Regions from separate parts of the Homo sapiens genome. Here all the other regions are linked to region 1. The links are contacts of gene promoters, found by promoter capture Hi-C in blood cells and fetal thymus (Javierre and others, 2016). All regions are on one chromosome and are shown on one strand. The core of a region is centred on a gene start or on the middle of the fragment in contact, and the rest is flanking DNA. Distances in the headings are between cores, read along the strand shown. Region 1 holds the start of NALF2 (NALCN channel auxiliary factor 2). Region 2 overlaps IGBP1 (immunoglobulin binding protein 1). Region 3 holds the start of IGBP1 (immunoglobulin binding protein 1). Region 4 has its middle 20 kb from the start of IGBP1. Region 5 has its middle 16 kb from the start of OTUD6A. Region 6 overlaps EDA (ectodysplasin A).

Region 1 (4,369 bases), core at 718-3,217:
ACTCATGTCTATATTGCTGATGCCTAATACAGCATCTAGAATGTAATAGATCCTCAATAGATGTTTGACAAAGGAATGAATCAATGAATGAATGACTCAACTCCAGCGGCTGTGTGCAGAATCATCTCTGAGGGAATCTGGCAAAGTTGACTGGTCCCTCCCTCTATGGGAGGGACACCTACCATCCTTATTGCACTAGGTTGCAATTTCTTCTTTAACATGTCTGCCTCTCTAATTCAACTGTGAGCACCTCAAGGGCAGGGCCGTCTGATTCACCGCAGTATCCTACTTAGCCCCTAGCACAGTGCTTGTAACATAATGAATAAATAGGCCTCCCAAATGCCTGACAGTTTTGTCCCTTGTCTCATTTCCTGCTACTCCCTTCCCCACAAATTCTCACCATCAATATAGCCAAACTGCCACACTCGTGGCTTCACAAACATACAAAGCTGCTCCCTACCCCTGAAACTTTTCATCTGCATTCCTTTTATTTGGAATGCCCTTCTCAACCACCCACCCTAATCCTGCTACTTTAGAAACTAGCTCCATTTGTCCCTCTTCCAGAAACCTTTTATGTACCCACCCCAGTCCACCTCTGAGTAGTGCTAACGATGCCCACCCATTTCATTTGATCCTTGGCATCCCTTCGTGTTACTCAGGGGAAAACCAAGACTCAGAAAAGGAAAAGACTCTCAAGGGTACACAGCATATCAGCAGTTGAGTTATTTATCCAAGGCTCTAGTTCATGAATCCTCCCACTAGCCAATATACATGTCTTGTTTCCTTATATAGACTATAATTTCCTTTAAGGAAGGAATGCCTTGGCTCTTTCATCTTTCCAGGGCCTTACTGGAGTGTTAAGAGAATTCTAGAGTCAGACTGAGTTTCTTTTTTAGCTGCTCTGGTTACTTTAGGCAACAACCACACTAAACCTCAGCTTCTTTGTATGTAAATGAAGATAACAGTAGTACCTATCTCATAACACTGTTGTGAAGATTGGATGACGAATGCATGCAAAATGTATAGAGCAGTACCTAGCACATAGTACGCGCTCAATTAAGGCTATTTTCTTTATTGTTATTCTTAACATTAACAAATGCTTGCCGGCAACGGTTGACAAAAAATTACAATGTGAGTTACTGGGAGTGAGGAAGGCAAGCAGACCACAGGGTCAGTGGAGTCCAAACAAGGTTAGTGGCGCGTCAGGATGTTTGTACGTCCGAATTCCTAGTGCCATGTGACTCTGTGAGGGCCCAAGCACATGGTTCCATCCGGGCGGCGCAGCTTCTCTAACTCTCAGTCAGCTATTCTCAGCAGCCTGTAGGGGGAGCCAAAAAGCTAGGACGGGGGCTGGTGCTTGGGTGGGGGGCGGGCGGGTGGGGGGTGGAGGCTGCTGGAAATATTCCTAAGGGCAAACACCGACACCCCACCACTACTATCTTAGCCCACCGCCTTGCCCCCTCCAGGACGCTCTCCAAACTCAGTCTTCCTCAGCAGCTAAGCTGGGAGCTGTCCTTCAGCACCAAGGGCCGCCTTGTCCTCGGGCAGGACGGTGAGGGCGAAGGTGGAGTTAGGGACACTGGACTGGTCCGATCCGCAGCCGGCTCGAGCGTCTTCCAGTCACGGGGACGGCGGAGGCGACCCAGAGAGGCAGCAAGCAGCTACGAGATGCCTGCTGCTCCTTGCCTCCAAGAATCACCCTCAGAAGTCCCCTAGCCCTCGGGGGAGTGAGGGACGGCCATGGAGAGGAAGGCGGGCGCCCGGGTTAGTGGGGGAGGGGGAGCGCCGAGGCCTGGGACTCAGCGTGTGGCATGTGCACGCGGGCAGCGGGCGGATGAACGGAGGCGCTGAAGTGAATGGAGTTGGGGGTGGACTGGAAACATCCCCAAACAGCACCGGCTGCGGCCGGCGGGGGCTGGGGCGGGGTGGGGTGGGGGGAGTCCTGAGGCGCAGGCGCAGTCGGGGCACCAGTCCCGCTCCCTCCTCCTCTCCGTGCCTCTTTCTCCGCCCTGCTCCCCGCCAAACACACTTGCACAGGGGCTCTCAAGGTGTTCTCCGCACAGCGGAAGATGGCGACAGACTGAGGGTGCATGGCCAGCGGGAGCCACGGGGCCGTGCCGCTGGGCTGCAGCCACAGCGGTGCGAACGAGAGGCGGAAGCGAGAGGCGCACTAAGTAAAGCCCGGTGTCTGCGTCCGGCGCCTGTGGCGCTGCCGGGAGCCAGGTGGCCCGCCCGAGCCGGAACTCCAGGAGCAGCGGGTGCGGAGCCAGAGCGGAGCCCGCCAGGGACTGGCCCCGGCGAACACCCGGAGCGCGAACGAAGCCCGAAGGGCCCGGCAACGGACCGGCCGGCCGGCCTAGGAGGGCGCGAGCGAGGCAGGGAGCGGCGTGGAGCGGGCAGCGGGCGGACGGGCGGGAGCGGAGCGGCGCGGGGCGAGGGGAGCGGAGCGGAGCGCGGCGGCGGGGCCCGCACGGCGGCGCTGAGGGGCGCAGAGCTGCGCCGAACCGAGACGGCCGGTTTGGAGTGCGAGCCGGGCGGCCGCCGGCGCGGAGTGAAGTGGCACGGAGCCGAGGGCAGCTGAGGGGCCCGACACTATGAGGAGTGCGGCGCCGCCGCCGCAGCCGCCACCGCCCCAGTGCCCCGCACCGCCCCCAGCCGGGACGCCGGGCAGCGCCTAGCGGGCCGGGCGGCGGCGCCCGGGCTGAGAGCGACGGAGCGCGGGAGCGGCGCGGAGACGGCACCAGAGCGCCCCGCGACTCCGGCCTGAGCGGGGCATCGCGCCGGCCGGCCTGCCTCACCATGCAGCCCCCGAGGTAGAGCCTGGACGGCGCCGAGGAGCGCAGAGCGGCGCGCAGCCCGCCCGCCCCAGACGGCCGTCTGGCCTCGCGCCTGCCTGTTCCCTCCAGCCCGGACCCCCCTGAAATATGTTCAGGGGCGCTTGGATGTGGCCCGGGAAAGACGCCGCCGCGCTGACTATCTGCTGCTGCTGCTGCTGCTGGGCTCCCAGGCCGAGCGACAAACCTTGCGCCGACTCCGAGCGGGCGCAGCGATGGCGACTGTCCCTGGCGTCCCTGCTCTTCTTCACCGTGCTGCTCGCTGACCATCTGTGGCTGTGCGCGGGGGCCCGGCCCCGGGCCAGGGAGCTGAGCAGCGCCATGCGGCCCCCATGGGGGGCCGGCCGGGAGCGGCAGCCGGTGCCTCCTCGCGCGGTGCTGCCGCTGCCGCCGCCGCCGCCCGGCGAGCCCAGCGCGCCCCCAGGCACCTGCGGCCCCAGATACAGCAACCTGACCAAAGCCGCCCCCGCCGCCGGCTCTCGGCCGGTCTGCGGCGGCGTCCCAGAGCCCACGGGGCTGGACGCAGCTTGCACCAAATTGCAATCTTTGCAGAGACTTTTCGAACCGACTACTCCGGCCCCCCCTCTGCGGCCCCCTGACTCCCTTTCCCGTGCCCCGGCCGAGTTCCCCTCCGCCAAAAAAAACTTGCTCAAAGGCCACTTTCGGAACTTCACTCTCTCCTTTTGCGACACCTACACGGTCTGGGACTTGCTGCTGGGCATGGACCGCCCCGACAGCCTGGACTGTAGCCTGGACACCCTGATGGGGGACCTGCTGGCCGTGGTGGCCAGCCCGGGCTCCGGGGCCTGGGAGGCGTGTAGCAACTGTATCGAGGCGTACCAGCGGCTGGACCGACACGCTCAGGAAAAATATGACGAGTTCGACCTCGTGCTGCATAAATACTTACAGGCGGAAGAGTACTCAATCCGGTCCTGCACGAAAGGCTGTAAGGTAAGGACTGGCTTCCGCAGCCACAGCAGCCGCCCTGGGCAGCGGCAGCGGCCGCAGTGGGACCGGGAGAAAAAAGGAAGTCTCCCTTTCTACCCACCCCACCACTCCCACCGTGCCCAGTGCAGCACTACCAGTGCCACCCTGGGACCTTCCCTAGTGAAGAGGCCTCAGGGATTCAGGTCAGGTAACCACCTGGCTAACTTCTATTAATTCCGGGTTTGGGCACCTTAGGCCTGGGGCTTCCTGGCGCCCTGCTCCCTCATGAGTGGGGAGGGGCCGCAGGGCCCTGGGCTGACAATGAGGTGGCAGGAGGGATTGTGCTCCCCCCAGCCTCCATCCTCAGCCAGCCATGCCCCTCTCCTTTCAGAGGCTGGAACTGAACGTCCTGGGACTGGCTGGTGCAGGGGGAAGGCCAAAGATGGGAGGAAGAATATTTGGCAACCAAACCCTCACCCTTTGGCTTCTGCCAGTGGGTGAGAGGACGAGCACTCCTGGTGGTGGGGCACACCACACACTTGACCTTATGTGACCTGAGGTGACTGGCCAGAGCCGAGGCAGGTCGAGCCCAGGGGCTGCCTGTCTTC
Region 2 (4,369 bases), core at 796-3,295, 650 kb after region 1:
CACTGCACTCCAGCCTGGGTGACAGAGTGAGACTCTGTCTCAAAAAAAAAAAAAAAAAAAAAGATATATAGGTTGAGCATCCTAAATCTGAAAATGAAAAACCTGAAATGCTCCAAAATCCGAAACTTCTTAAGGCTAATGTGATGCTTAAAGGAAATGCTCACTGAAGCATTTTGGATTTTCAGATTTGGGATGCTCAACCAGATATGATGCAGATATTCCAAAATAAAAAACAAATCTGAAATACTTCTGGTCCCATGCATTTCAGATAAGGGATACTCAACCTCTACCATGCTAACAGTAAGCATAAGAAAGCTGCAGTAGCTATAGTAATATCAGATAAAGTAGATTTCAAGACAAAAAGGTATTATCAGAGATTTTAAAAGGGCATTTCCTACTGATAAAGTGGCAATTTATCAGGGAGACATAGCAGTCATAAATGCATTTGTGCCTAATAATTTTCAAATTATTTACTTGAATACTTACAGGCTACTGTAGGGTTATTCATTGGCCCAATTTCAATATTGTTGTGTCTCAAGGAACAGAGAGGCCTGGAGCAGGGTTGGGACAGCCAGTCAGTGGAGCAGTCAGAACATAACACATTTACCCATTAAGTTCTCTGTCTTCTGTGGGCATGGTTTGTGGTGCCCCAGAACAATTACACTGGTAATACCAAAGACCACAGATCACCATAACAAATGAAATAATGAAAAAGTTTGAGAAACTGAGAATTACCAAAATGTGGCACAGTGACACAAAGTGAGCAAATGCTCTTAGAAAAAGGGCACCAATAGACTTGCTCGCTGCAGGGTTGCCACAAACCTTCAATTTGTTAAAAAAAAAAAAAAAAAAAAAAGTCTCTGCAAAGCACAATAGAGTGAAGCACAATAAAACGAGGTATGCCTTCACCTTCTTTTCAGATACCCATGGAACATTCACCAAGGTAGATCATATACTGGTCCATGAAATAAGTCTCAATAAATTTTCAAAAATTGAAATCACACTGAATATGTCCTCAGACCACAATGGAATTAAATTAGAAATCAATAATGTACCTAGAAAATTCTCAAATATTTGAAAATTAAACAGTACACTTCTAAATAACCTATAGGTCTAAGAAGAAATTAGAAAGAAAATTAGAAAATACTTCTAACTGGGAATAAGTTCAAGAGATCTGTTATACAGCATGGTGACTATCGTTAATGGCTGGGTGCGGTGGCTCACGCCTGTAATCCTAGCACTTTGGGAGGCCGAGGCGGGTGGATCACCTGAGGTTGGGAGTTCAAGACTAACCTGGCCAACATGGTGAAACCTCGTCTCTAATAAAAATAGAAAAATTAGCCGGGCGTGGTGGCGGGCGCCTGTAATCCCAGCTATTCGGGAGGCCGAGGCAGGAGAATCGGTTGAGTCTGGGAGGCAGAGGTTGCAGTGAGTCAAGATCACACCATTGCACTCCAGCCTGGGCAACAGAGCAAAACTCCATCTCAAAAAAAATGAAAATAAAATACAGAGTAGATGTTAAGTGTTCTTACTGCAAAAATAACAATGTGTAAGGTACTGCATCTTTTAATTAGCTAGATTTAGCTATCCCATAATATATACTTCAAAACATACTGTACACAATAAATATGTTTGCCCATTTAAAAATAAATAAAAGAGAATACTTTGAACAGAATTACAGTGAAAGTACAGCATCAGAATTTATGGGATACAACTCGAGCAATGCTGAGATGGAAATGTGTGTAACTTTCAACACTTATGTTAGAAAAAAGGAAGATAAAATCAATTACCTAAGGTTTTACCTTAACAAGGGTGGGGGTGGGGGCATAGGGAACAAAGAAAGCCCAAAGTAAATAGATGAAAGGAAATAAAGGCAGGGAAACTAGGGGTGGTCATGGTTCTGGTAGTAATGCACAAAAATTGGACACGTGTATACTCCCATGACCTGGCAGTTTCACTACTCGGTATATACCTAAGAGGAGTGAGACCATATGTCCACAAAAGACCTGTACAAGATTGAACATAGCAGCATTATTTGTAATAGTCCACACTGAATACACACCACTCAAATGCCCATAAATAATAGAATGAAGAATAAATTTTGGTATATTCACACAATGGAAAACTATGTAGCAATAAGGTTAAACTATAGTTTGTTTGCTATAAGTGACAAATATAGCTGAATCGTGTGAAAAAAGCCAGACGCAAAAGAGTATATACTGTATGATTCCATTCATACAAACTTCAACAAACAGGTGATACTTGTGTGTGCTGGTTGAAAGCTAGTAAGTGTTCACCCTTAGTTGGGGATCATGAATGGAACTGGACCTACAGGGTCTTCTGAGGAGTTAGAAATATTTTGTATCTTCATCTGGGTACTGATTACATGGATGTGTTCAATATGTGAGAGGTCACTGAGCTATACAAATGTTAGTATACTTTTCTACACGTATGTTGCACTTCAGTGAATGTGAAAAAACCCATGGACAATATTTATAATGAAAATAGGTGGCAGTGTATCCCCATGAACCTCACAATAAAAACAGGTAAGGGCAAATTACCCATAGCCACAAGATCCAGCAGTTATTGGCATCTGTGCAGGAGAAAACCAGAGTTGACAGGCCATCTGAAAAACTTGACAAACAGAATTCCAAAACAGTGTATTCCCTAGAAAGAATGGCAGTCCAATTTAAGAACTGCAGTTGAAACTGGGAGGGATGAGTATGAGGGTCCAATAGTCAGAAGGTCTGAAAGCGATAGAGTAGTCTAGTCCTTAGTGAACTCTTGAAGTTGATCCACCGGTCTCCCTTCCAGGACAGGGACTCACACTGAGGAGAAATTGCTGAGAGTAGAATTGAAATTAAGCAGGACAGGAATAGAAAAAGAAAGAAAAGGTCCAGATGAAATTAGGAGAGAGGACCAGAACCAGGAACTCCAATCAAGCAAGTAATCATATTTCTTTAATTCACATGAAAACAGCAGAAAGGGAGCCCTTATGAAGTTAGAAAAGCTACTCTGAACCATGCTTCTTTCTACAAGTTTAGGAAAACATTTCACGTAAAAATGAACAACAGATTGTGGTGATGGTTGCACAACTCTGAATATAAAACACTGAACTGTTGGCTCACACCTGTAATCCCAGCACTTTGGGAGGCGGATCACAAGGTCAGGAGTTTGAGACCAGCCTGGCCAAGATGGTGAAACCCCGTCTCTACTAAAAATACAAAAAAAAAAGAAAAATTAGCCGGGCATGGTGGTACGTGCCTGTAGTCCCAGCTACTTGGGAGGCTGAGGCAGGAGAATTGGCTTGAACCTGGGAGGCAGAGGTTGCAGTGAGTCGAGATCGTGCCACTGCACTCCAGCCTGGCAACAGAGTGAGACTTTGTCTCAAAAAATAAAAAAACAAAAAGAAACACTGAAATGTATACTTTTAAGTGGGTAGATTTTATGGATTGTGAAATACAGCACAAAGCTGAGAAAAAGGGAACAGAAAATTATCAAAGTCAAACCCTACACAAAGTTATTAGAAGAGAAAAACACTACAGAAAGACACGCTCAAAAAAACAGAACAAATCTGAAACATGGTATCCAAAAAAGAGTTGGAAGATATTCAGAAAATAACATAGGACATGGAAGGACAATATAAAGCAGGATTAGAAAAACTCAGAAATATGACAGCTTGGGGAACATGAATCATTTCAGAAATATAGGCTAAAGTAGAAGGAAACAAGAATGAGTGAACACAACAGAAAATGCCTTACTATGGTAAAAGGAAGGAAAATTTTAAAACGAAAAAAGATAAACAGGGTTTGAGGAAAAGTGACATATACTAAAGATAGTAAAGAAGACCTGGCATATAGATAATAGGATTATCTGAAGAAGAAAGCCAAAGCAAGGAAAAAGAATAAATGCTAAAAGTTAATATTAAGGAAAGTTTCTTGGGATTAAAAAAGTTGCGCGGGGGGAATCTCTTGGTGTTGGGTGTGACGCGACCCACAGGCAGCCACAGCAGTGCTGTGTTCCAAGGCACGGGTGCTCAGGGTGGCTGTGGAGCTTGGTCCTGGGTCCAGTGTCTTCTTGAACTGCTGCGGGACCTGTGACATGGGTGCAGGTTCAGTCTCAGGCACAGGTGGATGCTGCTCTCCCACCAAGGCAAGGACTATGACTCTGAGGCACTTCTCAGTAGCTCGGGCCCAGGGGCAGGGACGTAGCTGTGATTCCTAACCTGGGGGTCAGGGCATAGTACTGGCATGGCTCTGGGGAGGGAGGGGTGTTCCAGACGCTCAGACCCCAGGGAGCAGGGCACAGTGGCAATTCAGGCACCAGGAAAGAAGATGCTGTATAGTGGTGACTCTGGACCCTGGAAGCT
Region 3 (4,369 bases), core at 828-3,327, 630 kb after region 1:
ATGATAGGTTTGGAGAACTAGGAGAGTTTGCTAAAGATTCAGCTTAGGATCCACGAAGGAACAAAATGAAAAGGATGTCAGCAGGCAGATTAGAAAGGATCTTAAAGTCATGTTATTGAGTTTGACCTTTAACAGAATGCCCCTCCGGGCCAAAGTTATTCTCTCCATTCCTCTAACACCTTGAACACACCTTTATCAAAATATTTATCAAATTAACATTTGATTATTTGTTTACCTGTCTCTTCCGTGGAACTATGGACCCCTTAAGAGCTTAAACCTCGGGTAGTGTTCGAATTCTCAATGCCTAGCATTCAGGTAGCACACAGCATGTATGGAAAGAGCAAAGGAAGGAATTTCTCCAAGGTCCCACAGCTATTCAGTAGCAGAGTTGGGCTAAAGGGATCCTCCCACCTCAGCCTCCCAAAGTGTTGGGATTACAGGCGGGAGCCACTGCACCTGGCCAGATTAATGCTTTTTATATTGTGTTACTTAGAGCCCTTGAGTCCCTCACCTGGAGTGCCACTCACTGAGCAGGTTGAGGAAGATGGGCCAGTGGCTGAGTTGGCAGGCTTCTTTGTATCCTCTTCAAATACATCAGTCCTTTTAGAAATTACAGGCTCTCTAAAACTTGTTTTGGAAAAAGAATTATGCTACTACAAAAAGTTTAAGTACCGTTATACTTTCATGATTGTTAAGTGCCCTAAACTAGGATTTTAAAAAGTCTCCCATGCACAACAGGAGTTTAATATGATAAAGTGTTTACACACAAAACACAGCAAACGACTCGTTTTTATTATTCCTTTTTTTCTTTCTTTTTTGTGAGACAGAGTCTCGCTCTGTCGCCCAGGCTGGAGTGCAGTGGTGTGATCTCGGCTCGCTGCAGCCTCTGCCTCCCGGCTCACTGCCTCAGCCTCCGGAGTAGCTGGGGTTACAGGCCCGCGCCACCATGCCCAGCTAATTTTTGTATGTTTAGTAGAGACAGGGTTTCACCATGTTGGCCAGGCTGGTCTTGAACTCCTGACCTCAGGTGAGCTGCCCACCTCGGCCTCCCAAAGTGCTGGGATCACAGGCATGAGCCACCACGCCCGGCCATTATTCCTTTTTTTCTAACCACTTTTTAATCTTGGTATTCTTTCAGAATAAGATGAAATGCAATGCTTAAAATGACAACTCTAATATATAACAGGCACTCTGAAAGTAATTGGCATCTCCCATAAAGACCGTCATTTTGGCTGGGCACACTGAATCACGTCTGTAATCCCAACACTTTGGGACGGTGAAGCGGGTGGATCACTTGACCTCAGGAGTTTGAGATCAGCCTGGGCAACATGGCGAAACCCCGCCTCTACAAAAAAATACAAAAATTAGCCAGGAGTGGTGACTTGCACCTGTAGTCCCAGCTAATTGGGGGGCTTGAGGGTAGAGGATCACTTGAGTCCAGGAGGCGGAGTTTGCAGTGAGCTAAGATCGTGCCAATGCATTCCAGCACTCCAGCCTGGGTGGCAGAGTGAGACCCTGTCTCAAAAAAAAAAAAAAAAAAAGACTAATTTTGAAAGCCATAAAAAATGACTTACAAAGTTTAAGACCAAATTAAGACTGTGCACATTTTTTTCCTCTTAAGTAACAGTAAAGACATGTTTTAATCCAAGCAAATGCAGAGAAGCAAATTATCTTTACTCTCACAATTACTACATTTCTAAGTCTCCTCCACAAGTACTATCTTTTTCTTTATATTCCCTGCCAAGCCTGACCCTGAAAGGTCAGTTTACTAGAGGTGCCAGATAAACCAAATAGGTAATTCGCCAAAGCCTCACTTCCTTCTTAGTTTATAAAGCAGGGGTTGCAAGGGAAGGTTTATTAGAATCACCTGGGAAGCTTTTTCAACCTACATGTGTGCCACAGCCTCCTCTCCCTCTTAGGAAGCACTGTTCTAGTTTGGGGCTTCAATCTGTCCCACATTAAAGGTCTTCATCTTTCTAAATCCTACCCAACTGAAGGTTAATGGAGTAGAAACAATTGAACGCAGAAGTCACTGACTTTGTCACAAACTGGCTGGACAAGTCCCTTAACCTTTCTGGTCTCAAGTTTTTCCTCCGATTTTGGGGGTTCCCTTTAAACTTTGACATTCTTCTATGTGACCGCATGTCATGTCTAAGAAGCCTTCTGAACTACTCCTAGCATGGGATGACTTGCCCTTTCTTGCTTTTCCAACAGCCTGTGCAATACAACATATCACCTATTTTATACTGTCCTATATTGCCCTCTAGTTGTTTTTTAATGAAGCTTTTTTTCTTCTCAACGATATGTAGTTTAAAATACTAGTTTAAAAGTTTATTTTCAGGGGTAGACAGTGTGCCTGCTACTTAAATCTCCTAGGACAATTCAGGCTGCGTCCTAAGGTAATCAGTATGTATTTATATTGCTTTGTTCAAAACAATGACGTCCCTTCTTTGAAGTCCTGAAATTATGTTTTCCATCAGTTCTGTCCAGTAGAAATATAATGGGAGCTACAAATATAGTTTTAAATTATCTGGCAGGCACATTTACAAAGTGAAAAGAAAGAAGTACAATTAATTCTAATAATATATTTAATCCAACATATCCAAAAGACTATCATTTCAACATGTAGTCCATGTAAAAAGTATTTACATTTTTCATTCTTTTTTTTTTAAATGTCTTTGAAATCTGGGGTGTTTTTTACACTTGCAGCACATCTCGATTCAAAATAGCCACTTTCAAGTGCTTAGTAACCACATGTAGCTAGTAACTACCTACTGAACAATGCTGTTCTGCATAAGTTGGCTGCTTTCCAAACTGATCACTTTTTTTTTTTATTCAGATAATGACTGATACTGAGTACTCAGGCTAGCCAGAGTGGTGCAAAGATGAGTCAAATTCATTCTGATAAGAGAGATTTGTAAGTCACTAGCAATTATACAGCGTGGTAGGTGCCATGATAGAGATGCATAGGAGAAACCCAGACTTGGCGGCTGAAGGGCACAGGGTGGAAGGCGGTAGAGAGACAAGGAAGGTTGCACAGAAATAACATTTGATGTAGGAACTAAGTGCACGAAGGGAAGCCGGCTGTGCGGTGACCGGAGTTGCAGGTTGCCAATCTTGCTGAGGGGGGCTCCACCGGACGCCGGCCTACGGGTCGTAGGCGTGTGTGGGGTGAAGGGGGAAGAGGACGGGAGAGGATTGGCTGGGAGGAACCCGGAGCTCCATCTGGTGGGTGGACGGAAACCGCAGGGGGGCGCTACTTGCACTTCGCGCTCAAGCGACCGGATCTTCAAACCGTGGGAGTGGTGCGGCGGCTAGAGTCCCTGGACTCCTCAACCTAGGGAGCTACTCGCGAGGTAAGGGGCGCGCCAGACTGGCTCCTAAAACGCACTCGCTCGTCCGCACTCCTCGCGCTCCGAATTCAGCCTCGCCTCACCCGGGCTTCAGAGCCCACAGAACTTCTCAGCCCCGTGTCGGCGACGAGGAGCTCATGGTAAAACAGCGCCTAGGGTTTTGCTTGTTTGTTTGCTTTTAACAGATGCCTACGACTTGTAACGGGCTGCCTGGTAAAATGAGTCTATGGAAACGGTTGCCAGGGCCGGCTAACAGCGGCTCCCGGAAGTCCTTTGATGCTTTGTTAACAGTGAAGCTACTGGACCAATGAGGTGCTTCTTCCGGTTTTGTCCGCGCTCGCCTAATTCTTCTTTATCAAGGTTGCCTTTGACCCCGGAAAAGAGATCTTCCGGGTTCCTCTCTCCCCAAGATGGCTGCTGAGGACGAGTTACAGCTGCCGCGGCTCCCCGAGCTGTTCGAAACTGGTAGACAGTTACTGGACGAAGTAGAAGTGGCGACTGAACCCGCCGGTTCCCGGATAGTCCAGGAGAAGGTGTTCAAGGGCTTGGACCTCCTTGAGAAGGCTGCCGAAATGTTATCGCAGCTCGACTTGTTCAGGTATGGGGGAAGATAGTAATAATGGCTGAGAACGAAGGTAATAATGGTTACCAAGGGTGGAGCCATTGCGCCTGAGTGGAGGGGACCTTTAGTGGTGAGAACGTTTCGTTCCTACTTACCACTGCGATCTTGTGTACATTGTTTACATTCCCCACCTCTCTTCCCAGATGGTTGATATCTTACGACTCTGCTTCCTAGCGTCTGCTGATTGCATAGGCATTGGGTGTGAGCCCTCAGCCACTTTCATTGAGTGAAACTGGCCGCTGTTCCCCGTGCCTCCTCCCTCTGGTCCACTCCCAGCCCAGCCTCCCACTCCGTCCCCCAGAAAGCAAGGGCCACAATTTGAATGCCTAGTCAGGCTTCACTGCCTCCTTTTTGCTCTTCCAGCCGAAATGAAGATTTGGAAGAGATTGCTTCC
Region 4 (4,369 bases), core at 480-2,979, 610 kb after region 1:
GTTCGTCTTCAAAGCTTATCTTGGTTTAAAAATAAAATAATAGACACTAGGAATAATAGCTTCTTACTCTAAAGCCTCCTATCAACTATCAGTTCTTATACTTTAGCCCCGTTAGCTGCTTTGGCTTACCCGGGCATGTCTGGACAGGCCCAGGCAAGTCTTAGCTTATAGCTTACAGCCCTTCCTCATTTGGAAATGTTATTGCTTCCTTAAACCTTTCATAAGCAACTTCCTCTCCTTCTTTGTTCCCCCTTGCACTTACCTATTTAGGAAAGATTTAGGCTATCAGCAAATCGGGTATCAGTTTAAGACTGTGAGGTCCAGCTCCAGCCAATGGATGCAGGACACAGCAGTAAGGACAACCCAAATGTGTAAGGGATAAATATGTCTTCTTTTCCTTTGTTCAAGTGTGCTATCACCATTGTTCCATCTGTGAGAGGCACCCTTTCTGCAGAAAGTAAAAATGGCCTTGCTGAGAGAATTAAATTTATGTTCAAGTGCTATTTCTTTGCAGCACCAGGGAACAAGCATTTCTAACGCTTTCCCTCAACAACAAAAAAACACATTCACATACCGTAGATCATCTTTCTTTGTACATTTTGTATACAATGTTCTCTTATTTCTAGTAGTTTTGATTACATGTTAGGATTTTAAGTCTTAGTAACCGATATAGTTTGACCCTGTCCCCACCCAAATCTCATCTGGAACTGTAATCCCCATGGTGTCAGGGGAGGGACCTGTAATCCCCATGTGTCCAGGGAGGGAAGTGATTGGATTATGGGGGCAGTTTCCCCTATGCTGTTCTTGTGATAGTGAGTGAATTCTCACAAGATCTGATTTTTTTTGTTTTGTTTTGAGTCTTGCTCTGTCACCCAGGCTGGAGTGCAGTGGCTCAATCTAGGCTCACTGCAACCTCCACCTCCCAGGCTCAAGTGATTCTCCTGCTTCCAACTCCCAAGGTGCTGGGATTACAGGCACATACCACCATGCCTGGCTAATTTTTGTATTTTTTTAGTGTTGACAGGGTTTCGCCATGTTGGCCGGGCTGGTCTCGAACTCCTGGTCTCAAGTGATCTGCCCACCTTGGCCTCCCAAAGTGCTGGAATTACAGGCGTGAGCCACTGCATCCAGCCTCGAGATCTGATGGCTTTTAGAGTGGCAGTTTTTCCTGCACTCTCACTTCTTCCTTCTGCCACCTTATGAAGAAGGTGCCTCATTGTAAGTTTCCTGAGGACTCCCCGGCCATGTGGAATTGTTGAGTCAATTAAATCTCTTTCCTTTATAAATTGCCCAGCCTCAGGGAAGTTCTTTAGAGCAGTGTGAAAACAGACTAATACAGTAACCCTAATTCCTAGTGTAAACCTAGGAAGTAAGCAATGTTGAACTGTCATGTACTAGCACTTTATTAATACACATTTCATAATTTTTGCAAACATGTTTTCTGCTAGAACAATTTTTCATTGTGGAACAGGACATACTTACTAACAGATCCAAAATATATTTTGTACTTCTATAGAATTCAAGAAGCCGAAAGTAAATAAACTTATGTTCAGAAATTAATGTTTTAGTATTTTATCTTATTTGGAAATGATCTGGATGTTCAGTGAATAGCCACCATTCAATTTAACTTAGCAAAACTCTGTAGGTAGGAGTTACCAAAGAGATTTGGGAAACTTTTTAAGTAAACATATAATAAAACATAATTATTGTTTAAGTTTATTTATAAATTTTATTTACATCTTATTTAATTTACTCATTCTTAACAATCATGTTTGGATTACTCATGAAAATTTCATGAGACATTAGACAAAACTAGCCATCAACTCAAGTTATTTCACTATTAACTTTTTCTTTTTTTGTTTTTGAGACAGAGTCTCACTCTGTAGCCCAGGCTGGAGTGCAGTGGTGCAATCTTGGCTCACTGCAACCTCCACCTCCTGGGTTCAAGCAATTCTCCTGCCTCAGCCTCCCTGGTAGCTGGGATTACAGGTGTGCGCCACCACACTCAGCTAATTTTTGTATTTTAGTAGAGACGGGGTTTCACCATGTTGGCCAGGCTGATCTCAAACTCCTGACCTCAAGCAATCCACCAGCCTCAGCCTCCCAAAGTGCTGGGATTACAGGCATGAGCCACTGTGCCTGGGCACTATTAACTATTTTTACAGCATATGCATGTCAGGCAGTCATCACCAAAGCAAATTACATGGGTGTTTTTTTAATTTGTTTGTTGGTTTGTTTCTTGTTGACAGCTCAGAAGATGCAGCTGTTTTCATTAAACCAACAGTAACAAGCTAGTCTTATTTACCAAAGATTTACCCAAGTCACATAAACTTGAAAAATATTTGAGTTAGTTATCATATTTCTAGCAGTTTTAGTTTTTCATTTATATAAGCACTCATTTACCTCTAAGCCAATTTGGTTTTTGGTTTGTTTGAGACATGGTTTTGCTCTCTCAGCTAGGCTGGATGTACTGCAGTGGTGCGATCACAGCTCACTGCAGCCTCATCTGCCAAGCTCAAGCGACTCTCCCACCTCAGCCTCCCAAGCAGCTGGCACTTGCAGACACACACGACCATGCCCTGTTAATTTTTTTTTTAAGTAGACACAAGGTCTCACTATGTTGCACAGGCTGGTCTTGAATTCTAGAGCTCAAACAATCCTCACATCTCAGCCTCCCAAAAGAGTTGGGATTACAGGCATGGGCCACCATTCCCAACCAATGTCTACAGCCAATTTGAATAGAACTCCTTTAAGAGATTTTATACCATGGGCCTGGTGCGATGGCTCATGCCTGTAATCTCAGCACTTTGGGAGGTTGAGGTGGGCAGATCACTTGAGCTTAGGAGTTCAAGACCAGCCTGGCCAACATGGCGAAACCCAGTCTCTACTAAAAGTACAAAAATTAGCCAGGACTGGTGGCAGGCCCCTGTAACCCCAGCACCTTGGGAGACCAAGGCGGGTGGATCACCTGAGGTCAGGAGTTTGAGACCAGCCTGGCCAACATGGCAAAACCCTATCTCTACTAAAAATACAAAAGTTAGCCGAGCGTGGTGGCATGCACCTGTAATCCCAGCTACTCTGGAGGCTGGGGCAGGAGAATCGCTTGAACCTGGGAGGCGGAGGTTGCAGTGAGCCGAGGTCACACCACTGCACTCCAGCCTGGGTGATAGAGCAAGACTCCATCTCAAACAAAAAATTAAGAGATTTTTATATCATGTAGACATAACATGCAAACATGCTTGTATACACACATCCATAAGCATACATAGACATACAAACAAACACAAATAAAGATCTTATGGCATTTTACTTTAAAAGTTTTAGTCATGAGGCAGTAAAATATAGTAATATAAACTCACTGGTTTATCCCCTCATATATTTTTATGTAAATTGTGTTTCTGACCCCCAAAATTAGAACAAATTAAGGTTACCTGCTCACATGGCTGAAGCTTTTTTTTTTTTTTTTTTTTTTTTAAGATGGAGTTTCACTCTGTCACCCATGCTGGAGTGCAATGATGCAATCTCGGCTCACTGCAACCTCTGCCTCCTCGGTTCAAGGGATTCTTCTGCCTCAGCCTCCCAAGTAGCTGGGATTACAGGCACCCACCACCACGCCCAGCTAATTTTTGTAGTTTTTAGTAGAGATGGGGTTTCCCATGTTGGCCAGGTTGGTCTCCAACTCCTGACCTCAGATAATCCGCCCGCCTCAGCCTCCCAAAGTGCTGGGATTACAGACATGAGCCACAGCACCCAGCCAGCTAAAGCTTTTTACTGTTAATAGAAAAGACTTTTAAGATTTTTTTTCAGGCCAGGCACGGTGGTGCACACCTGTAATCCCAGCACTTTGGGAAACCGAGGCAGGTGGATCACCTGAGGTCAGGAGTTTGAGACCAGCCTAACATGGTGAAACCCTGTCTCTAACAAATACAAAACAAATAGCCAGGCGTGGTGGCACATGCCTGTAATCCGAGCTACCTGGGAGGCTGAGACAGGAGACTCGCTTGTACCTGGGAGGTGGAGGTTGCAGTGAGCCGAGATCGTGCCATTGCACTCCAGCCTGGGCAACAACTCCGTCTCAAAAAAAAAAAACAAAAACAAAAAAAAAAAGATTTTTCAGGTTTTTGTTGTTGTTGTTGTTTGTTTATTGCTGAGAATCATCTTCCTAAAGTTTGCATTTCAAAAGGGATAGTTCTTGGATAAGACAGAGTAGAAAATTACATCTCAAAGGCACAGAGAAAGAATGTAAGTTTTCACCAAGAAGGAGGGGGCATATTTGCCTATTAGAGGTCTAGTTTAGTTACTTTTTACAGTTTTCTTTCCTTTTCTTAAATGTAGAACTGTTCTGTTTCCAATGTTCTAATTTTTTAAA
Region 5 (4,369 bases), core at 487-2,986, 570 kb after region 1:
GATTCCAATCCCCCTTCCTAAGTGCAAATCAGCTACTTCAGCCCAACTTGGAGAGTTGCTTAAGGGACCTATTCTAATGAATAGCCTAGAGTGACTGGAACACATTCTCAAGTGTGTAAATAGTGCTTTTGAAATATTTGAGGGGGCTTAAAAACAGCTTGTTCTCTTTAAGTAGCCTATTCAGTTAAACAAAATGTATCAAGTATCTCCAATGACAGGCACTGCTTGCTGGGTTGGGGCCCAGGAAGGCCTCAAAACAGTTAAGACTGCCTTGGTGCTCTCCAAGGAGGCCTAGCCTCAGAGGTGAGACCAACATAAATCCAAGTGACCCCCAATCCAAGGCCCAACAGTAAGTGCTGTGGTCCAATAAGAAGATGAGGAAATGAAGTGGGGATGCCCTGGGCCAGCTTGGGGTGGAGGAATCACAGAGCAAGGGAAATGGGGAGACTTGAAAGGCCAGCTTAGATTTAGGTGGGCAATGCTGAAGGCAAGGGCATTCCAGGTAGAGGGAACCCCATTAGGCAAACACACAAAGATGACAGTCTGCGAGACACATGTAGAGAACAGTTGTTCACATTTCCAGCATCCATTGCCCACTATTCCTGCAAAAGCCCCCACTTATCCTTTGGTGCACCAACTCTCTCCCACCCTCTTAAGTTGAAAGGGGTTCACCAGGGCCCTCCCCCTTAGGCCTGCCAATTAAAATACCTCTTCTCCCTGGCCACAGTGACTGGTTCACGATGTTATATGTAAAAATGTTTATTTAGAAATAGAATGTTTGTTCCCCAGTGCCACAAAGAAATAGCACTTGAACATAAATTTAATTCTCTCAGCAAGGCCATTTTTACTTTCTGCAGAAAGGGCACACTCGCCAGCAGTTTTGCCACAAGAGTATACCGAACAAAAGAGACAGGGTCATTTATAACCTGACGCATTCACCCTACTGCTGTCACCGGTTTCCACTGGCTGCAACAGGACCTCACATTCTGTATTTGTCCCAATTGGCTAGCAACTTAGAACTTTTTAAAAGAGGCAAAGGCAGAAGAGAACAAAGGAAGGAAGAGGTAACTTGCGGAATGCTGAGAAAGGTAAAAAACTCCTCCAAATAAGGAAGGGGAACGGGCTATGACCTAATGCTTGCTTGGACCAGTATAAGCATGCCAGGGCAAATATTTAGGCTAAATTGTGGGAGCTAAGAACACAAAGTACATTGATTTCTGTATTACGGCTAGCGGATATTTTAAAACGTTAGCACAGTTATTTGAATAAATTTCGCTTCTAAGAGAAGTTACTATTTATTCCTAATTAGACGGAGAGGAAAGTCTCTTTGAAGAGGAACCTCTACTTCACTTTTTACAAAGATGAGCTCGTGGCCTGGGCTCATCCAATCAGAGGAAAAGTCAGGATATGATGGGTGCATGAGCTTTGTTGCTTTTTTGTTTTGAGATGGGGTCTCGCTCTGTCGCCCAGGCTGGAATGCAGTGGTGCGATCTCAGCTCACTGCAGCCTCCGCCTCTTGGGTTCAAGCAATTCTCTCACCTCAGCCTCCTGAGTAGGGAGGGATTACAGGCGCCTGCCACCATGCCCAGGAAACTTTTGCATTTTTTGGTAGAGACGGGGTTTCCCCCTGTTGGCCAGGCTGGTCTCAAACTTCTGACCTCAGGTGATCCACCCGCCTTGGCCTCCCAAAGTGCTATTACAGGCGTGAGCCACCGCACCCGGATGCTTCATTGCTTTTTTTTTTTTTTTTGAACCTTGGTCCATCTTAACCTTCGGATCAGGACTGCTGCAATTGCTACAGGCTGTTCCCTTTGAAGCCACCTTGGAAAATCACCATATTGAATCAGTTCCTCGGAAGAGGCTATTAAGGCCTTCCTGGAATTGCAGGTGAGTTCACAGTTCTTGGAAAATCCCAATCAGAATTTTGTTTGAAAGGAGGAAGGAAATGGGTAGCAACAACAGCATTTTCCAATGTTCCAAATCTATGTGCACGAAGCAACTTTTTCTAGAATTCTCAGCCACCTGGAAACCAAGAAGAGGTTACTCAGGGTATATTCTAGCCCTCAATCATTACTGAGGGTACACAGAGTACTCAGTTTTTTATCATAAGGACCAGCCCCCACAGCAACTTCTTGAGCTACCTTTTCTGTAGAGCCTTGACTCAGCGACCACCCCATACCTGAGATAAGAGATAATGTTTTTTCTGCAACTTGCTCACCCTTCCAGGAAAAACTCTTCTTTACTGACGATTTAGAATGTTACAATATAGGCAATGGAATCCATTAAGTTAATGTTTTCAGAAGAAATGAGACATCAGAGCTATGCTTTAGGAATGACACAAAGGATGACATTTGGGGGAAATAATGAATTGCAAGGAGAGATTGAAGAGAAGAAGATGAATTGAGGGTTTCTCTTTTAATTCATGACAGATGATGCTGACCTGGATTGGGGCAGTGGCAGCAGGGAGAGAGGAGGGGACCAAAGTCGTGAACATTAGGAATAGAATTAGCATTTATGTGGAGATTAAGGGTAAAGCCAGGATCAGAGGTGATCCTGGTGATTCCCTGGTTTCTAAGTAATTCTGGAAATGGTTCACTGAAACTTAGGCCCTTAAAAATCCCTTAAATCAGGGCCGGACACGGTGACTCACGCCTGTAATCCTGGCACATTGGAAGGCTGAGATAGGAAGACTGCTTGAGCTCAGGGATTCAAGACCAGCCTGGGCAACACAGTGAGATCCCGTCTCTACAAAAAAAATCTAAAAATTAGCCAGGTGTGGTGGTATGTCCCTATAGTCCCAGCTATTTGGAGAGCTGAGGAGCTGAGGTGGGAGGATAGCTTGAGCCTGGGAGGTTGAGGCTGCAGTGAACCGTGATTGCACCACTGCATTTCAGCCTGGGCAACAGAGCAAGACCCTTCCCCTCAACCCTTAAATTGTCCATTCCTCCCAATAAAATCCCTTAAATTGTCTATCAAGTAGAGTATATCCAGTTTCATGTATACAACCTTTGTACACTAAAGGTTTTTGGTACCTCTGAGCTAAACTAAAAAGAGGTGTGCGTGTGTGTGTGTGTGTGTGTGCGCAAGCGAGAGAGAGAGAGAGAGAGAGAGAATGTGAGAGAGAGAGAGAGAGAGAACAGACTATCTTAGAAAAGATAAGAAAGTACAAGAAGACAAACTCAGTGGCTAAGGGGCAGGGTGTGAATGTATTGCTTATTCAAAATAATAAATATGGTTAAAATTTAAAATATATATAATTAAAATTAATAAAGTTAGTAGCAAGCCAAGCATGTGTCAAGAGTCATCCAGCAGTAACCCTCAGCAAACAATATTGCCGCCAAACTCAGAATGATTCACTTGATAACAGTAAGACAAGAGCTTCAGCAGGACAGTGCAGGGAGGGCTCTGGCACTCTGGCTGTAATGAGTTCTGCATCCTTCTTCCTGTAGTTCTCCAGTAAGTAACTATTTGGCTGGATTTCGTAGCCTATCTTTTTATCGTATGTACATCCCACCCCTTTCAAGGAAAGCAGTGATTCTCAGAAATAATAAAGTCACATTTTAAAAAGCAATAATTTCTTTCCTGAATTCAGACCCATGATGGATTTTGGGTTTTACATCATTTTGCAAAGCAGTTTCTGTTCTTTCTGTTTCTACTGGTGGAGAGACCTGAGGCCCATACAATGCTTTGTCTAAAAACAGATCCATTAAACCCTAGTGACACAAAGAAACTGCAGCAGAAGCTTTGAAATTCAAGAACTTTTCGCAGGCTTTTTTTGTTGTTTTGTTTTTGTTTTTTACTTTGGGCCAGGTCAAATTTTTAGCTTTGGTGTATTCCCCTCTCTGATCTTTGAAGATAGTCCCCCAAAAGCCAGGTGAGGAGAGTGCAGGAAAGAAAGGATGGTGGGGAGTAACCCTTAAGATTCCATAGAATAAGCAATAGAATAAGCACCACGAGAATAGACATCAAACATTATCAGAGCTTTGTTTTTTCCCCAGTGGAGTAATAGGTGAATTTAATTTCTGCAGATTATCAGCTGTGAGCATATGTTACATTTTATTTTACATTGTATTTCAACAAAAACAAATCAGTATAAACACTCCTAAATAGTATAAGAGACTCATTAAATGATTTTATAGTATTTTTTCTGCAAACAAAATGCCTTTCTGTAAATAAGAAAAAAATCATTTTAAATTGCAAATGTTTTCCCTTTTTTTAATGGAAAAATAATCAGGCGCAATTTTTTTCAATGAATAAAGATTTCCCCAGACAGACTTGTACTAAATGTTAACATTTTAAACATTTCAGTGATGTAGTATGCTAACTACATACACATACACAATAGCTAACATGAAGAAAAGTTAAAATC
Region 6 (4,369 bases), core at 845-3,344, 510 kb after region 1:
ATCAAGTCTACATAATAACCAGCTAACAACACAATGACAAGATCAAATTTGCACATATCAATATTACCCTTGAATGTAAATGGGACAAATGCACCAATTAAAAGTCACATAGTGGCAAGTTGGATAAAGAAGCAAGACCCAACTTCTTTCTTCAAGAGACCCATCTCACATACAGTGACACTCATAGGCCCAAAGTAAAGGGATGGAGAAAATCTGCCAAGCAAATGGAGAAAGAAAAAAAAAAACAAAAAAAAACAGGGATTGCTATTTTAACTTCAGACAAAACAGCCTTTAAACCAACAACAATTTTAAAAGACAAAGAAGGGCATTACATAATGGTAAATGGTTCAATTCAACAAGAAGACCTAGCTATCCTAAATATATATGTACCCAACACAGGAGTACCCACATTTATAAAACAAGCTCTGAGAGACCTACAGAGAGACTTAGATAACCGTACAGTAATAGTGGGAGACTTCAACACCCCACTGACAGTATTAGAAAGATCATTGAGGCAGAAAACTAATATAGATATTTCAGACCTGAACTTGATACTTGACCAAATGAGCCTAACAGACATCTACAGAACTCTCTACCAATTAAAAAAAAACCCAGAATATACATTCTTCTTATCTGCACATAGCATATGCTCTAAAATTGACCACACAATTGGCCATAAAACAATTCTCAGCAAATTAAAAAAGAAAAACAGAAATCATACCAACCACACTGTCAAACCACAGCACAATAAAAATAGAAATCAATACCAAGAAGATCACTCAAAACCATACAAATAACCTGCTCCTGAATGACTTCTGGGAAAATAATGAAATTAAGCAGAAACCAAGAAATTCTTTGAAACTAATGAAAACAAAGATACAACTTACCAGAATCTCTCGGGCACTGCTAAAGCAGTGCTAAGTACTAGATGCCCACATCAAAAAGTTAGAAAGATCTCAGATTAACAACCTAACATCACACTTTGAGGAACTAGAAAAACAAGAGCAAACCAACCCCATACTAGCGGAAGACAAGAAATAACCAAAATCAAAGCTGAACTGAATGTATTTGAGATGTGAAAAAACATACAAAAGATCAATGAAATCATACTTGGTTTTTTGAAAGAATAAATAAGATAGACCACTAGCTAGAGTAATAAAGAAAAAAAGAGAGAAGATCAAAATAAACACAGTCAGAAATGACAAAAGGGGCATTACCATCAATACAACAGAAATGCAAAAAAAAAAATCAGAGACTATCAAAAACACCTCTATGCACACAAACTAGAAAACCTAGAAGAAACTGATAAATTCCTGGAAACATACAACCTCCTGAGACTGAGCCAGGAAGAAATTGAATCCCTGAACAGACCAATAATGAGCTCCAAAATTGACTCAGTAATAAATAGCCTGCTAAGAAACTAAAAAGCACAGGACCAGGTGGATTCACAGCCAAATTCTACCAGATGTACATAGAAGAGTTGGTACCATTCCTACTGAACCTATTCCAAAAAGTTGAGGAGGAGGGGCTTCCCCCTAACTCACTCTGAGGCCAGCATCATCCTGCTACCAAAACTTGGCAGAGACAAAAAAAACTTCAGGCCAATATCCTTGTTGAACATAAAAGCAAAAATCCTCAACACAATACTAGCAAACTGAATCTAGCAGCACCTCAAAAAAGCTAAGCCACCACAATCAAGTAGGCTTTATCCCTGGAATGCAAGGTTTGTTCAATGTACGTAAATCAATAAAAATTATTCACCACCTAAACAAAACTAAAAACAACAACCACATAATCATCTCAATAGATGCAGAAAAGGCTTTCAAGAAAATACAGCACCACTTCATGTTAAAAATCCTCAACAAACTAGGCATTGAAGGAACGTACTTTAAAATAATAAGAGCCATTTATGACAAACCCACAGCCAACATCATACTGAATGGGCAAAAGCTGGAAGCATTCTTATTGAGAACCAGAACAAGACAAGGATGCCCTCTCTCACCACTCCCATTCAACACAGTATTGGAACTACTAGCCACAGCAATCGAGCAAGAGAAAGAAATAAAAGGCATCCAAATAGGAAGAGAAGAAGTCAAACTATCCCTCTTTGCAGACAATATGATTCTATACCTAGAAAACCCCCATAGTCTCTGCCCAAAAGCTCCTTGATCTGATAAACAACTCCAGCAAGTTTCAGGATATAAAATCAATGTACAAAAATTAGTAGCATTCCTATACACCAGCAACATCCAAGCTGAGAGCCAAAACAAGAATGCAGTCCCATTCACAACAGCCCAAAAAGAATAAAATACCTAGGAATACAGCTAAACAAGGGGTGAAAGACCTCTACACTGAGAATTACAAAGCACTGCTCACAGAAATCAGAGATGACACAAACAAATGGAAAAAACATTCCATGTTTATGCGTCAGAAGAATCAATATTGTCAAAATGGTCATAATACCCAAAGAAATTTACAGATTCAATGCTATTGTTATCAAACTACCAATGACATTCTTCACAAAACTAGAAAAAACTATTTTAAAATTCATATGGAACCAAAAAAGAGCCTGAATAGCCAAGGCAATCCAAAGCAAGTAGAACAAAGCTGGAGGCATCATATTACCTGACTTCAAACTATATGTTAAGGCTGCAATACCCAAAACAGTATGGTACAGATCGAACAATGGAATAGAATAGGTAGCCCAGAAATAATGTCACACACCTATGACCATCTGATCTTTGACAAAATTAACAAAAACAAACGATCTAGAAAGGACTTACTATTCAATAAATGGTGCTGGGATAGCTGGCTAGCCATAAGCAGAGATAATTGAAACTGGGCCCCTTCCTTACACCATATACAAAAATTAACTCAAGGTGGATTAAATCCTTAAATTTAAAACCCAAAACTATAAAAACCCTTGAGGAAAATCTAGGAAATACCATTCTAGACATAGACCCTGGAAAAAAATTTATGACAGAGACATGAAAAGCAATTGCAACAAAAACAAAAATTGACAAATGGGACCTAATTAAACTAAAGAGCTCCTGCATAGCAAAACAGCAAAAGAAGCTATCAACAGAGTAAACAGACAACCCAAAGAATGGAGAAAATATTTGCAAACAATGTATCTGACAAAGATATATCCAGTATCTATAAGAAACTTAAACAAATATACAAGCAAAAAAACAAGCAACCCCATTAAAGAGTGGGCAAAGGACATAAACAGACACTTTTCAAAAGAAGACATATACATGAGCAGTAAGCACATGAAAAAATGCTCAGCATCACTGATCATTAGAGAAATATAAATCAAAACTAAATGAGATACCATCTCACACCAGTCAGAATGGCTATTACTAAAAAAATCAAAAAATAAGAGATGCTGGTGAAATTGTGGAGAAAAAGGAACACTTATATACTTCTGGTGGGAGTGTAAATTAGTCCAGCCATTGTGGAAAGCAGTGCGGTGATTCCTCAAAGAACTTAAAGCAGAATTAGCATGCAACCCAGCAATCTCATTATTGGGTATATACACAAAAGAATATAAATTGTTCTACCATAAAGACACATGCACATGTATGTTCATGGCAGCACTCTTCACAATAGCAAAGATGTGGAATCAGCCTAGATGACCATCAACGGTAGACTGGATAAAGAAAATGTACGTACATGTCATGGAATACTATGCAGCACAGTAGACTGGATAAAGAAAATGTACATACATGTCATGGAATAATATGCAGCCATAAAAAAGAATGAGATCATGTTCTTTGCAGCAACATGGATGGACCTGGAGGCTGTAATCCCAAGCAAACTAATGCAGGGACAGAAAACCAAATGCTACATCTTCTCACTTATAAGTGGGAGCTACACATTGAATACATATGGACACAAAGAGGGGAACAATAGACACCAGGGCCTTCTTGCGAGTGGAGAGTGGGAGGAGGGTGAAGATCAAAAAACTACTTATTGGGTACTACGTTTATTACCTGGGTGATGAAATAATATATACACCAAACCCCTGTGACACACAGTTTATCTATAGGACCAACCTGCACATGTACCCCAGAAACTAAAATAAAAGTTTAAGAAATGACTTTGAGCCCTGTTTCTGTTGGTACTCTTCATGTCATGGGCATTTTAGGGAAAAAATATAAAAATTTTAGTTAACTCTTTGTCTTACACTGTATGCCAAAATCTATACCAGATTAATTGTAGATTTAAAAATAAAAATGAAACCATAAAAGAACTAGAAAATATATAAAGAGTTACCTATAATATCACATTAGGGAAGGCCTAAGTAAGCATGACACTGAAGGCAGTAACCATATAGGAAAAGATTATTAGGTTTAACTACATGTAA

What was found. Contacts are between HindIII fragments. The CHiCAGO score rates a contact against its expected background, and 5 or more counts as called.
Region 2: a fragment that was not itself captured here is called in contact with the fragment with the promoter of NALF2 in region 1 in 1 of 17 cell types (total CD4 T cells); the score reaches 5.3 in total CD4 T cells.
Region 3: a fragment that was not itself captured here is called in contact with the fragment with the promoter of NALF2 in region 1 in 7 of 17 cell types (M2 macrophages, naive CD4 T cells, M0 macrophages and 4 more); the score reaches 11.2 in M2 macrophages.
Region 4: a contact is called between a fragment that was not itself captured here and the fragment with the promoter of NALF2 in region 1, in 4 of 17 cell types (M0 macrophages, naive CD8 T cells, endothelial precursors and 1 more). The highest score is 7.5, in M0 macrophages.
Region 5: a contact is called between a fragment that was not itself captured here and the fragment with the promoter of NALF2 in region 1, in 8 of 17 cell types (naive CD4 T cells, naive CD8 T cells, non-activated CD4 T cells and 5 more). The highest score is 7.6, in naive CD4 T cells.
Region 6: a contact is called between a fragment that was not itself captured here and the fragment with the promoter of NALF2 in region 1, in 1 of 17 cell types (M2 macrophages). The highest score is 9.4, in M2 macrophages.

What each region holds. Positions count from the first base shown.
Region 1 is chrX:69,502,359-69,506,727 of GRCh38, forward strand. It overlaps NALF2 (NALCN channel auxiliary factor 2), which reads left to right and starts at 1,968. Exons shown (of 3, transcript NM_015686.3): 1 at 1,968-3,785. The coding sequence starts at 2,925. RefSeq lists a silencer at 2,921-3,094 and an enhancer at 4,026-4,369. The HindIII fragment of the contact is 10,696 bases long and covers 1-4,369 here.
Region 2 is chrX:70,155,454-70,159,822 of GRCh38, forward strand. All of the region lies in intron 6 of IGBP1 (immunoglobulin binding protein 1), which reads left to right. It overlaps LOC107985683 (a long non-coding RNA gene), which reads right to left. Exons shown (of 2, transcript XR_001755877.2): 1 at 487-4,369. Among named protein-coding and RNA genes, the nearest start is that of DGAT2L6, 20 kb to the right of the region's middle. The HindIII fragment of the contact is 7,472 bases long and covers 1-4,369 here.
Region 3 is chrX:70,130,185-70,134,553 of GRCh38, forward strand. It overlaps IGBP1 (immunoglobulin binding protein 1), which reads left to right and starts at 3,263. Exons shown (of 7, transcript NM_001551.3): 1 at 3,263-3,356; 2 at 3,539-3,951; 3 at 4,339-4,369. The coding sequence starts at 3,764. RefSeq lists an enhancer at 3,682-4,141. The HindIII fragment of the contact is 408 bases long and covers 1,874-2,281 here.
Region 4 is chrX:70,111,202-70,115,570 of GRCh38, forward strand. No RefSeq gene overlaps it. Among named protein-coding and RNA genes, the nearest start is that of IGBP1, 20 kb to the right of the region's middle. RefSeq lists an enhancer at 1-781. The HindIII fragment of the contact is 3,435 bases long and covers 13-3,447 here.
Region 5 is chrX:70,076,670-70,081,038 of GRCh38, forward strand. No RefSeq gene overlaps it. Among named protein-coding and RNA genes, the nearest start is that of OTUD6A, 16 kb to the left of the region's middle. The HindIII fragment of the contact is 4,007 bases long and covers 1-3,740 here.
Region 6 is chrX:70,015,812-70,020,180 of GRCh38, forward strand. All of the region lies in intron 2 of EDA (ectodysplasin A), which reads left to right. Among named protein-coding and RNA genes, the nearest start is that of MIR676, 4.9 kb to the right of the region's middle. The HindIII fragment of the contact is 4,558 bases long and covers 1-4,369 here.